2 separate regions of the Homo sapiens genome follow, and region 2 is linked to region 1. Evidence: promoter capture Hi-C in 16 types of primary human blood cells and fetal thymus (Javierre and others, 2016). All regions are on one chromosome and are shown on one strand. The core of a region is centred on a gene start or on the middle of the fragment in contact, and the rest is flanking DNA. Distances in the headings are between cores, read along the strand shown.

Evidence for each region. Contacts are between HindIII fragments. The CHiCAGO score rates a contact against its expected background, and 5 or more counts as called.
Region 2: a contact is called between a fragment that was not itself captured here and the fragment with the promoter of LINC02610 in region 1, in 2 of 17 cell types (M1 macrophages and total CD4 T cells). The highest score is 6.5, in M1 macrophages.

Annotation. Positions count from the first base shown.
Region 1 is chr2:238,229,398-238,234,938 of GRCh38, forward strand. It overlaps LINC02610 (long intergenic non-protein coding RNA 2610), which reads right to left and starts at 2,280. Exons shown (of 3, transcript NR_026926.1): 1 at 1,937-2,280. It also overlaps the pseudogene TARDBPP3. RefSeq lists an enhancer at 4,845-5,346 and silencers at 5,047-5,176, 5,327-5,416. The HindIII fragment of the contact is 6,584 bases long and covers 1-2,749 here.
Region 2 is chr2:238,025,244-238,030,608 of GRCh38, forward strand. It overlaps UBE2F (ubiquitin conjugating enzyme E2 F (putative)), which reads left to right. Exons shown (of 10, transcript NM_080678.3): 6 at 99-169; 7 at 5,313-5,365. It overlaps UBE2F-SCLY (UBE2F-SCLY readthrough (NMD candidate)), which reads left to right. Exons shown (of 19, transcript NR_037904.1): 5 at 5,313-5,365. It also overlaps the pseudogene RNU6-1333P. Among named protein-coding and RNA genes, the nearest start is that of SCLY, 33 kb to the right of the region's middle. RefSeq lists an enhancer at 2,855-3,468. The HindIII fragment of the contact is 889 bases long and covers 2,773-3,661 here.

The sequences.
Region 1 (5,541 bases), core at 1,030-3,529:
CTGGTTTCCAGCCTGAAGGATTGATGCCCTTGTTGCTCTGAAGGATCCAGAACATGAAGGGAGGAGCAGGTTTTGTTGGAAAGCTGAGTTCACATTTGAACTTGTTGCAGAACCTGTGGGATTCCTGAGAGGCGACAGCCAGGGGCATTTGGATAAACTCTATGAGAGCTCCAGAGAGGGCTGGGCTGGAAATAGATTTTGCAGCTGGTAGCACAGCAGGTGAAGCCATGGAGATCATACAGATTACAGCCTAGAAGCTAGAGAAGAGGGCCTAGCAAAGAAATGTGGGGCACAATATTTAAGAAGACAATATTCGCCGGGCACGGTGGCTCATGCTTATAACCCCAGCACTTTGGGAGTGAGGCAGGTGGATTGCTGGACCAGCCTGGGCAACACTACAAACATCTCTCTCTACAAAAAAAATACAAAAATCAGCCAGGCATGGTGATGTGCGCCTATAGTCCCAGCTACTTAGGAGGCTGAGGTGGGAGGATCACTTGAGTCTGGGAGGTCGAGGTTGCAGTGAGCCATGATCGTACCACTGCACTCCAGCCTCCAGCCTGAGACAGAGTGAGAACCTGTCTCAAAAAAAAAAAAAAAAAAGACAACATTTAATATCCAGTTGTGAAGAGCCACTGCCAGAACCTGAGAAGGAATGGTGGAACAAGAAGAGCAAGAAGACTAGACAGAGAACAATTTTTTGAGATAAGGTCTCACTCCCATTGTCCAGGCCAGAGCACACTGGCGTGATCTCAATTCACCGCAGCCTTGACTTCCCGGGCTCCAGTGATACTCCCACCTCAGCCTCTCGAGTGGCTGGGACTACAGGTGCGGGCCACCATGTCTGGCTAATTTTTTGCATTTTTGGTAGAGATGGAGTCTTGCTATGTTGCCCAGGCTGGTCTTGAACTCCTGGGCTCAAGCGATCTGCCTAACTCAGCCTCCCAAAGTGCCGGGATTACAGGTGTGAGCCACCGTGCTCTGGCAAGAACAATGTTTTAAGAAGCATGAGGATGTTGAGTATCAAATGCCGCAAAGTTCGGGTGAGAAAACTGAAGAGTCTACTCGGCAATCAGGAGTTCATTGGAGACTCTGGCAGAAGTTTTCTATAGTAGAATGGCAGGAAATGTAGCCATACTGAAATTTTGTTAGGGACAAACAGGTGATGAGGAAATGAAGAAAATGAGAATGAAGACTGTTTTTAAGAAACTGGAGTGTGAAGAAAACAGTAGGACAATAAGTAAGAAACCTCAACGGGGTGTGAGGACAAGTTCCCCAGGATAAAGTGGATAAGATGGAGGTTGGCACTTAAGATTTGGAGCAGGTTCAACAGAGAGGAATGGCAAGGTTTGAGGGATGGTTCCTGACGTCTAAGGGCGCATTTAATATTCTTTCAAGGTTAAGGTGGGGCAAGATCTGGAGGAGAGAGGATAGTACCCCAAGTGTCATCATCCATTGACAGGTCAATAGGTAGTACAGCGACATGGGAACAGAGCAGGTGTGCACAGAAAGCATGGTTTCCCAGGGAGGGCAGTATTTTTCCATGAGGATGCAAGAGTGAAAAGCCTGGGAGATTCCACGAAGAGCTGAGGGGCTTCTGAGCCACAGCTTAAACCTTAACCCTCCTCCTCTCAGATACATTCAAATCCAAGTACTGATAATAATCTAGTAAGACCTGGGCTTCCCTGGCTACCGTCTATCAAGGAATGCCAGTGTCTGCCTCTGGGCAGTGCGCGTTGGATTTGGGTTCTCTGCGGGGTCTTGCTGATCTTAAAGACAATGCAGGGGCCTTGTGAGTCTCACCTCTGTACCCCCAGCACATAACAGGTGCTCAACACATTCGCGAGGGGAGCGCTGAGCAAAGCGGAGGCCCGGGTTCCCTCCTGGAGAAACCTGCTTCCCCTCCAAGGCCTCAAGCGTCCGCTCCTTCACTGACCTCAATCGTTGATTTCGGCTGCACTTCCTATCCCTGGGGGAGCTTTCAACGCTCCGCCGTCCAGGCCGCCGGGCCCCGCAGCCCGCGCCCCGCTCTCTAGGGCTGGGCCCCCAGGGGCTGGACGACCTCTCTCGCCTTCGCTTTCTCAAGCGTAAATCGGGCGGCGGGGGCTGCAGAGCCTTCATCTCTTCCTCCGTCCCGGGATGTCGGAGAGACGGCAGCCCAGCCTCCGCCACCGCAAAGCTGCTTAACGGGCAGCGCGAGTCCCTCGGGCACCGTTGGAGGCCGTTGCTCACCGTTGGGCAAGTGCTTTAAGAAGCACGAGGATGTCGAGTGTCAAATGCGGCAAAGGGCTCAGAGCTCGCCGCCAAGGGGCGTGGCCTCCGGGCCGCGGCGGCCTCTGGGAGTTGTAGTCCCGCCTCAACTTGTGGTGGCCTCTTTAAAAAAACAAAAAACAAACAAACAAAAAAACACTGGCGCTTGGGTCCGTCGCTGCCTCGGTGTCCCTGTCGGGCTTCCCAGCAGCGGCCTAGTGGAAAAGTAAAAGATGTCTGAATATATTCGGGTAACCGAAGATGAGAACGATGAGCCCATTGAAATACCATCGGAAGACGATGGGACGGTGCTGCTGTCCACGGTTACAGCCCAGTTTCCAGGGGCGTGTGGGCTTCGCTGCAGGAATCCGGTGTCTCAATGTATGAGAGGTGTCCGGCTGGTAGAAGGAATTCTGCATGCCCCCGATGCTGGCTGGAGAAATCCGGTGTATGTTGTCAACTATCCGAAAGATAACAAAAGAAAAATGGGTGAGACAGAAGCTTCATCAGCAGTGAAAGTGAAAAGACCAGTCCGATTTAATAGTGTTGGGTCTCCCATGGAAAACAACTGAACAGGACCTGAAAGAGTACTGTAGTACCTTTGGAGACGTTCTTATGGTGCGGCAAAGCCAAGATGAGCCTTTGAGAAGCAGAAAAGTGTTTGTGGGGCGCCGTACGGAGGACATGACTGAGGATGAGCTGTGGGAGTTCTTCTCTCAGTATGGGGATGTGATGGATGTCTTCGTCCCCAAGCCGTTCAGGGCCTTTGCCTTTGTTCCATTTGCAGATGATCAGATTGCGCGGTCTCTTTGTGGAGAGGACTCGATGAAAGGAATCAGCGTTCACATATCCAATGCCGAACCCAAGCGCAATAGCAATAGACAGCAAGAAGTGGAAGATTTGGTGGTAATCCAGGTGGCTTTGGGAATCAGGGTGGATTTGGTAAGAGTAGAGGGGGTGGAGCTGGTTTGGGAAACAATCAAGGTAGTAATATGGGTGGTGGGATAAACTTTGGTGCGTTCAGCATTAATCCAGCCATGATGGCTGCCCCCCAGGCAGTGCTGCAGAGCAGTTGGTGTACGATGGGTGTGTTAGCCAGCCAGCGAAGCAGCCAGGCCCATCGGATGATAACCAAAGCCAAGGCAACATGCAGAGGGAGCCAAACCAGGCCTTCGGTTCTGGAAATAACTCTTGTAGTGGTTCTAATTTTGGTGCAACAATTGGTTGGGGATCAGCATCCAATGCAGGGTCGGGCAGTGGTTTTAATGGCGGCTTTGGCTCAAGCATGGATTCTAAGTCTTCTGGCTGGGAACGTAGACAGTGGGGTTGTGGTTGGTTGGTATAGAATGGTTGGAATTCAAATTTTTCTAAACTCATGGTAAGTATATTGTAAAATACATATGTACTAAGAATTTTCAAAATTGGTTTCTTCAGTGTGGAGTATATTCAGTAGTATTTTTGACATTTTTCTTTAGAAAAAGGAACAGCTAAAGGAATTTTATAAGTTTTGTTACATGAAAGGTTGAAATATTGAGTGGTTGAAAGTGAACTGCTGTTTGCCTGATTGGTAAACCAACACACTACAATTGATATCAGAAGGTTTCTCCTGTAATATTTTATCCCTGGACTTGTCAAGTGAGTTCTTTGCATGTTCAAAATGGAAGCCATGAATTAGAACTACATTCTTTATTCCTTGTTTTAATTTGAACCCCACCATATGGATTTTTTTCCTTAAGAAAATCTCCTTTTAGAAGATCATGGTGTCACAGTTTGGTTCTTTTGTTTTGTTTTTTAACACTTGTCTCCCCTCAAACACAAAAGTACAATATGAAGCCTTCATTTAATCTCTGCAGTTCATCTCATTTCAAATGTTTATGGAAGAAGCACTTGGTTGAAAGTAGTGCTGTAAATATTCTGCCATAGGAACACTTCTGTCTACATGCCTTCTCATTCAAGAATTCGTCATCACGCATCACAGGCCGCGTCTTTGACGGTGGGTGTCCCATTTTTATCTGCTACTCTTTATTTCATAGAGTCGTATCAACGCTGTGAACGCAAGGCTGTGATATGGAACTAGAAGGCTGTTTGAACTTTTGAAACCTTGTGTGGGATTGACGGTGGTGCTGAGGCATGAAAGGCTAGTATGAGTGAGAAAAGGAGAGAGCACGTGCAGAGACTTGGTGGTGCATAACGGATATTTTTTAACTTGGCGAGATGTGTTTCTCAATCCTGCGGCTTTGGTGACAGTGTGCAGACAGCAATGATAGCAAATAATGTACGAATGTTTTTTGCATTCAAAGGACATCCACATCTGTTGGAAGACTTTGAGTTTTTGTTCTTAGATAACCCACTTTATTTGAATGTGTTAAGTGAAATGATACTTGTACTCCCCCTACCCCTTTGTCAACTGCTGTGAATGCTGTATGGTGTGTGTTCTCTTCTGTTACTGATATGTAAGTGTGGCAATGTGAACTGAAGCTGATGGGCTGAGAACATGGACTGAGCTTGTGGTGTGCTTTGCAGGAGGACTTGGAAGCAGAGTTCAGCAGTGAACTCTGGTGTCTCAAAGAAGGGTAGAAGTTCTAATGTCTGTTAGCTACCCATAAGAATGCTGTTTGCTGCAGTTCTGTGTCCTGTGCTTGGATGCTTTTTATAAGAGTTGTCATTGTTGGAAATTCTTAAATAAAACTGATTTAAAAAAAAAAAACCAAAAATCTAAGTAAAGGGGTCGGAACTACATCTCCCAGGAGGCCCCGCGGCTCGCCTCTGGCGGGGCGGGGCTGGAGGGGGCGTGGTCAAGGCCTCGGCTCCTCCGAGCGCCTCCCAGCTCACGGCGCCCCCCGAACCCGGCTCCAAGGGACTCGGTATTCCCCAGCGCCGGCTCCGGGCAGTCCCGGAAGGGCTCAAGGGCTGGGCGACTGGCTGATCGAGACCGTCCGGGTCCTGGCTCTCGGGTCACTTGCAGAGGCCTGAGCAGAGCGTAGGGAGGGCTGGAAGGGAGGAGCCCCGGGGGGCGGCGGTGCTGAACCGGGTAGAGTCTTGAAGGTCACGGTCAGGACTGGAGTGGGAGGGGAGTCAGAGGCCTGCTGCGGAGGCCCAGGTTAGAAACGAGGCTGCCTTGGACTCGGTCGGTGGCAAAGAAGACGACACGTGGAGGCAGGGCTTAGAAGTAGAGCTCCGCCGGGCTTGGTGGCTCACGCCTGTAATCCCAGCACTTTGGGAGGCCTAGGCGGGCAGATCACGAGGTCAGGCGATCGAGACCATCCTGGCTAACACGGTGAAACCCCGTCT
Region 2 (5,365 bases), core at 1,967-4,466, 200 kb before region 1:
AACAAGCGTCTAGATAGGGGATGTGGTAAGGCTCTGGCCTGGAGATGTGATTTGCAGAGACTGTCGGCGTGATCTCTCTCATTGTCTCTGTGTTGCAGCCTCCCAAAGTGAAATGCCTGACCAAGATCTGGCACCCCAACATCACAGAGACAGGGGAAATATGTCTGAGGTGAGTTTATTGTCTTTTCTTTCTTCTACATTCGTGAGTGTCATGTGCAAGCGTTGGGCTTTTAAACATGTTGTCTCCTCTGAAAAGATTTTGAGGCATGGCCAAGATTAGGAAGGGCTTGAACTCAGCTGAAGTAGCTGCGGTTGCCTGCCTGCTCCCAAACCCTACCCTACCTTCTGCCTCCAGACGAGTGTCTTCTCTTGGCCCTCTGGGGGCCACAGCCCTACTAAGTTCTTAGTGCAGCCTCCTTGCCTGCCCAGGATGGACCCTTGGAGTCCCTTGCCTTGTTCCCCTCCTATTTACATGAGAGACCACATTCCCTCCATGTGGCTGATTTTAGCTAAGATGAGAAAATATGATTAATGATAGATACCCAGGAGAAAAAATGTAGATGGCAGGCTTGAGACGACCTTGGGCACTTGTATTTAAGCTGCCCTCTCTCTACCAAAATGGTCCTGATAGATGTCAGGGCACTTAGGGCAGGCAGCCTCTCGGAGCTTCATGCCTGCTGTGACTTGTGTCCCTGATCCCTGGCATGGGCAGAACGTCAGGCATCAGTGATTTCTCCTCCTAAGGCTGCTGGAAAAGTTGTGTAGGTGGATTGGTTGGTTTTTAAAGTAAGTTTCACATTTGGGCTTTATTTTTTCTGCACTTTGTCCCTTTCATCACTTTAAGGCAGCAAGGTTGATTGCAGGGGCTTTGATATCAGACCACCTGGACCTGAGTCCAGCTCGCCGCCCCCGCCCCCACCCCTGCCCGGCTGCCCGGGGCAGCTGTGGGACTTTAGGCTAGGTATTTGAACTGTATGTGCCTCACACTCAGCCAGTTTGGAAAGTAGGCACAAAGTGTTTTCTTAGCACATTTCTCCTACTTTTGACATGAAATGCAATTAGTGGCCTAAGTCATTTCTCATGCTCAACTTCCGTATCTCTTTTCTTTCATTCCTCTCTCCTTAGTAAACACTAATCACCTTTGAAAGGAAATGTGTAAACTGTGGCTGCTGGAAATCTTACCTCAGGATCCCTTTCTCTTTTTTTTTGAGATGGAGTCTCGCTTTGTTGCCCAGGCTGGAGTGCAGTGGCGCGATCTGAGCTCACTGCAAGCTCCGCCTCCCAGGTTCACGCCATTCTCCTGCCTCAGCGTCCCGAGTAGCTGGGACTACAGGCGCCTACCACTACGCCCGGCTAATTTTTGTATTTTTTAGTAGAGACTGGGTTTCACTGTGTTAGCCAGGATGGTCTCAATCTCCTGACCTTGTGATCTGCCCGCCTCGGCCTCCTAGAGTGCTGGGGTTACAGGTGTGAGCCACCGCGCCGGGCCGGATGCCTTTCTCTTCACAAGTACAGTTAGTGCCCATTTGCCCATTTCATTTTTGTATATACTGCTCCTTCTTCAATATCAGCCTCGTTTTTCACAGATGGTTAAAAATACATTTTACCAGACATACCTTTTTAAAAAAGCATCTTCCCTTTGAAGTATCTGTCCTTTACGTATTGAAACATTAAAATTCCACTATCTTTGGTTGCAGGTTATAAATGTGTTTGGCCCAGGCCCCCACTGCCCCGCTTCCTCCTGTGCTTGTGAGGACACCTGGCTCACTTTCTGGGGGGCCATACTCTACTTCCCTGTCTTGTCCCTGCCTTAGTCAGAAATGGGTCCAGAATAGGAAGCTCTCTTGTCCCTTTTGCCGTCTTCTGGGAAGTCAGATGATTAGCAAAGCCTTATAAGGATGAACAGATGGTATCCTGATATAAAAGCCAGACGTCTTAAGGAAAAAGATTGTCAGATTTGACCATGTAAAAATTAAAAACACAAAATGGAAGAAGAAATGATCAACTGGATTAACATCCTTGGTATGTAAATAGTCCTTACTATTCATTATAAAAAAGACGGATACTTCTCTGGAAAAATGTGGCATTGGCTACAAATAGGTGATTCATAAAAGGAGAAATAGAGGTGGGCAGTAAATATCTGAGGAGATGTTCACTCTCATCAGTAACCAGAGAAAGGCGCAGAAGACCATGAAGTGTGGCTTACCACTCACCAGATTGGCAGGCACAAAGGTAGATACTTGGTGGCTGGGGGAGGAGTGTGTGACAGAGAGCGAGCAGGCTCTCTTGTTGGAGGGTGTGTGTATTTGCACACCTTTCATTGGTCCTTCAGCCACGTAGACTACCTGTAACTCGTATGTACCCTTGGACTTGTCAGCTGCACTTCTAGGGATTTAATCTAAGGAAATAATGTGCCAGATTGATGTACGGGGACCACCTTGTTAGTGAAAAGCAGACAGTGTCCAGTGGCAGCTTTATGGTGTGTCCCGAATAAAGGGAAGGAAAAGCCCAACCGCACCTCTGGTTTGTGGTGACGCTGACAGCAGCTCATCAGCCCTTCCCACAGCAGGACTGATGGGTGCCTGGGGCTCCACAGGCCTTTCAGTGCTGGCACACAGGAGCACCTTCCTCTTTTAGAGAGATTTGCCCTGGCTCCACCTTGTTGTCCCGGCAGGGACCCTTCGCCTGCTCTGGCACAAGGTCAGAGGCTCCATGTCTGTGGGATTGGAGGGCCTAGGTCAAGAGCTCAGTCAAAGCTTCTCCTAGAGTCCAAGCTTCTATTACAGTTCGTGGGGTGTCCTTTGTCTCCTTGCTTAATGACATCTCTGATAGCCAAGTGTCTCTGTCTCCTGAGCTGTTGCTGGGACTATCCTCTGTGAGGCCAGGCTAGAACTTCCTCAGTGACTGGAGGCACTGCACCCCTGATGGGCCTCACTGCTGCCCAGACCAGTGGCCACCACATGCTGGGGCCGGCCTTGCCTCCCCATTACCTGCCCCAGCCAGATGCAAAGCCCTCCTGCTCTGGCTGTGCTGTTAACAGCAAAGCTCAGGGTGAGCTTCCTTCTCCTTCATTCAGCTAATGTTGATTGAGCTTAGGCACTGGCAGAGGAATTAGCATTCCCTGCTTTTATGGATGAAACAGGCATTCAACAAATAAATGACAAATATATAACTGAAGGTTGCATTAAGATCTATATAAGAAAATGATTAGCTAGATCAGAAATAATTCCTCCATTCAACAAAATATAGCCACTAGGATTTGACTTCATTCCCAAAAAAGTTATTCAGAAGTTGACAATTCAGATCCACAAGTCACCAATACCTCTGTAGGGTAGAAAGACGTCCACCCAGTTGGTAGGATACATGATTTGAGTTTTCCTTTTTTCTTTTTAAGGCTAAAAGTAAATTTTAATGGTCAATTTAAGGTTAGTTATCTGTTTTTTTTAACTGCTCTTCACAGACAATTAAGATTATAGCTTTGATTCAAACTCTACATATTTTTCTCCTGATCTGAATTGACTTTTGTGAATTTAAACATGCTCTAATTCAAAAAAGTTTATCAGAGGTAACAATTATGGATAAAGCCTGATATTTTATTTACAGATCAAAGCCACAGCACAATAATTCAACAAATACAAAAGTAATTTTATCTCCAGAAGGAAGCTTGGCAATAAATTATACTTTTTTCAAAGTATGGAATGATCATTTAATCCTTTTAAAATTATTTAAAATTTTTTTTTTACTTTTTAAGATTATTGGGAAAATGCTAATCTTCTCTGTATCATCCCAATTTGAGCATATGTGCTGCGGAAGTGAGCACTGGAATGATCATTTCCATGAGAGTATATGGTGTGCCTTTACAGCTGATAGACAGTAATGACCAGGACTCTCAGGTACCAGCTTCAGAAACAGGGCTTCATCAGACCTCTGAATCCTGGTGTGCCTTCCCTGAGCATGGGCCCCCCACCTAAGGAGTGATTGATACTCAGAATTTTGCATTAATCTTTTATCCTCAAGCTTTTTCTTTTGAACTTTAAAAAAATAAAAAAAAAAACCCAGTTACGGCTGGGCGTGGTGGCTCACGCCTGTAATCCCAGCACTTTGGGAGGCCGAGGCGGGCGGATCACGAGGTCAGGAGATCGAGACCATCCTGGTTAACACGGTGAAACCCCGTCTCTACTAAAAATTCAAAAAACAAAATTAGCCGGGCGTAGGTGGTGCATGCCTTGTAGTCCCAGCTACTCAGGAGGCTGAGGCAGGAGAATGGCGTAAAACCGGAGAGGTGGAGCTTACAGTGAGCCGAGATCGTGCCACTGCACTCCAGCCTGGGAGACAGAGAGAGACTCCGTCTCAAAAAAAAAAAAAAAAACCCAGTTATTAAAATGTCATATGCTGGGAGCTCCCATTGTTGTTAACCTGCATCAGCAGTGTTTCAGAATGTCGGTGCCCGTGAGCTGCCTGGGTTGGAAGAACAACATTGTTCATGAGGCGTGTGCCCTTGGGCGTGTCTTCTCTGTGCCTTGGTTTCCTCCTGTATAAGACAGGGAAACAGGGATGCTCTCTTCACGGGTGGTTATAGGCATTAAGTGAATTTAATGGCACAGCACCTAGGATTGTGCCTGACATACACATAATAAGCTCTAAGCTTCAGTTACTCCTGTTGTCATGTTGTCATTTTGTTGCCATTGTCATTTTCTTTCTTTCTTTCTTTTTTTTTTTTTGAGACAGGGCCTCACACTATTCCCAGGCTGGAGTACAGGGGCGCCATCACAGCTCACTGCAGCCTTGAACTTCTGGACTCAAGCAGTCCTCCACCTTTGGGAGTACAGGCGTGCACCACTATGCCTGGCTAATTTTTAATTTTTAGTAGAGACAGGGTATCACTGTGTTGCCCAGGCTGGTCTCAAACTCCTGGACCCAAGCTATCTTCCCACCTTGCCTCGGCCTCCCAGAATGCTGAGATTACAGGCATGAGCCACCATACCCAGCCACCATTGTCATTTTCTGAATATTAAATTGACAAATGTTCTTTGTGTGTTGTTTTAAACATGCTCTTCCTCAGCCTAAAACTTCCATGTCAAGTATTACAACAAATAGATAAACATAACACAAGACGTTATAATTGAATATGTATATAACCTTGGAGGTGGAAATGCCTTCCTCAGCAAGAGAAAACTGAGAAGCCACAGAGGAAAAGATGGGTTTAATAAAAAGTAGAGCTCCTGCATGGCACACACCGAGAGGACTAGTTGGCAGCGTGCAGGGCACCTGTGGCTGCTCCTCACTAACCACTGTGTGTTTGTCTTTTTCAGTTTATTGAGAGAACATTCAATTGATGGCACTGGCTGGGCTCCCACAAGAACAT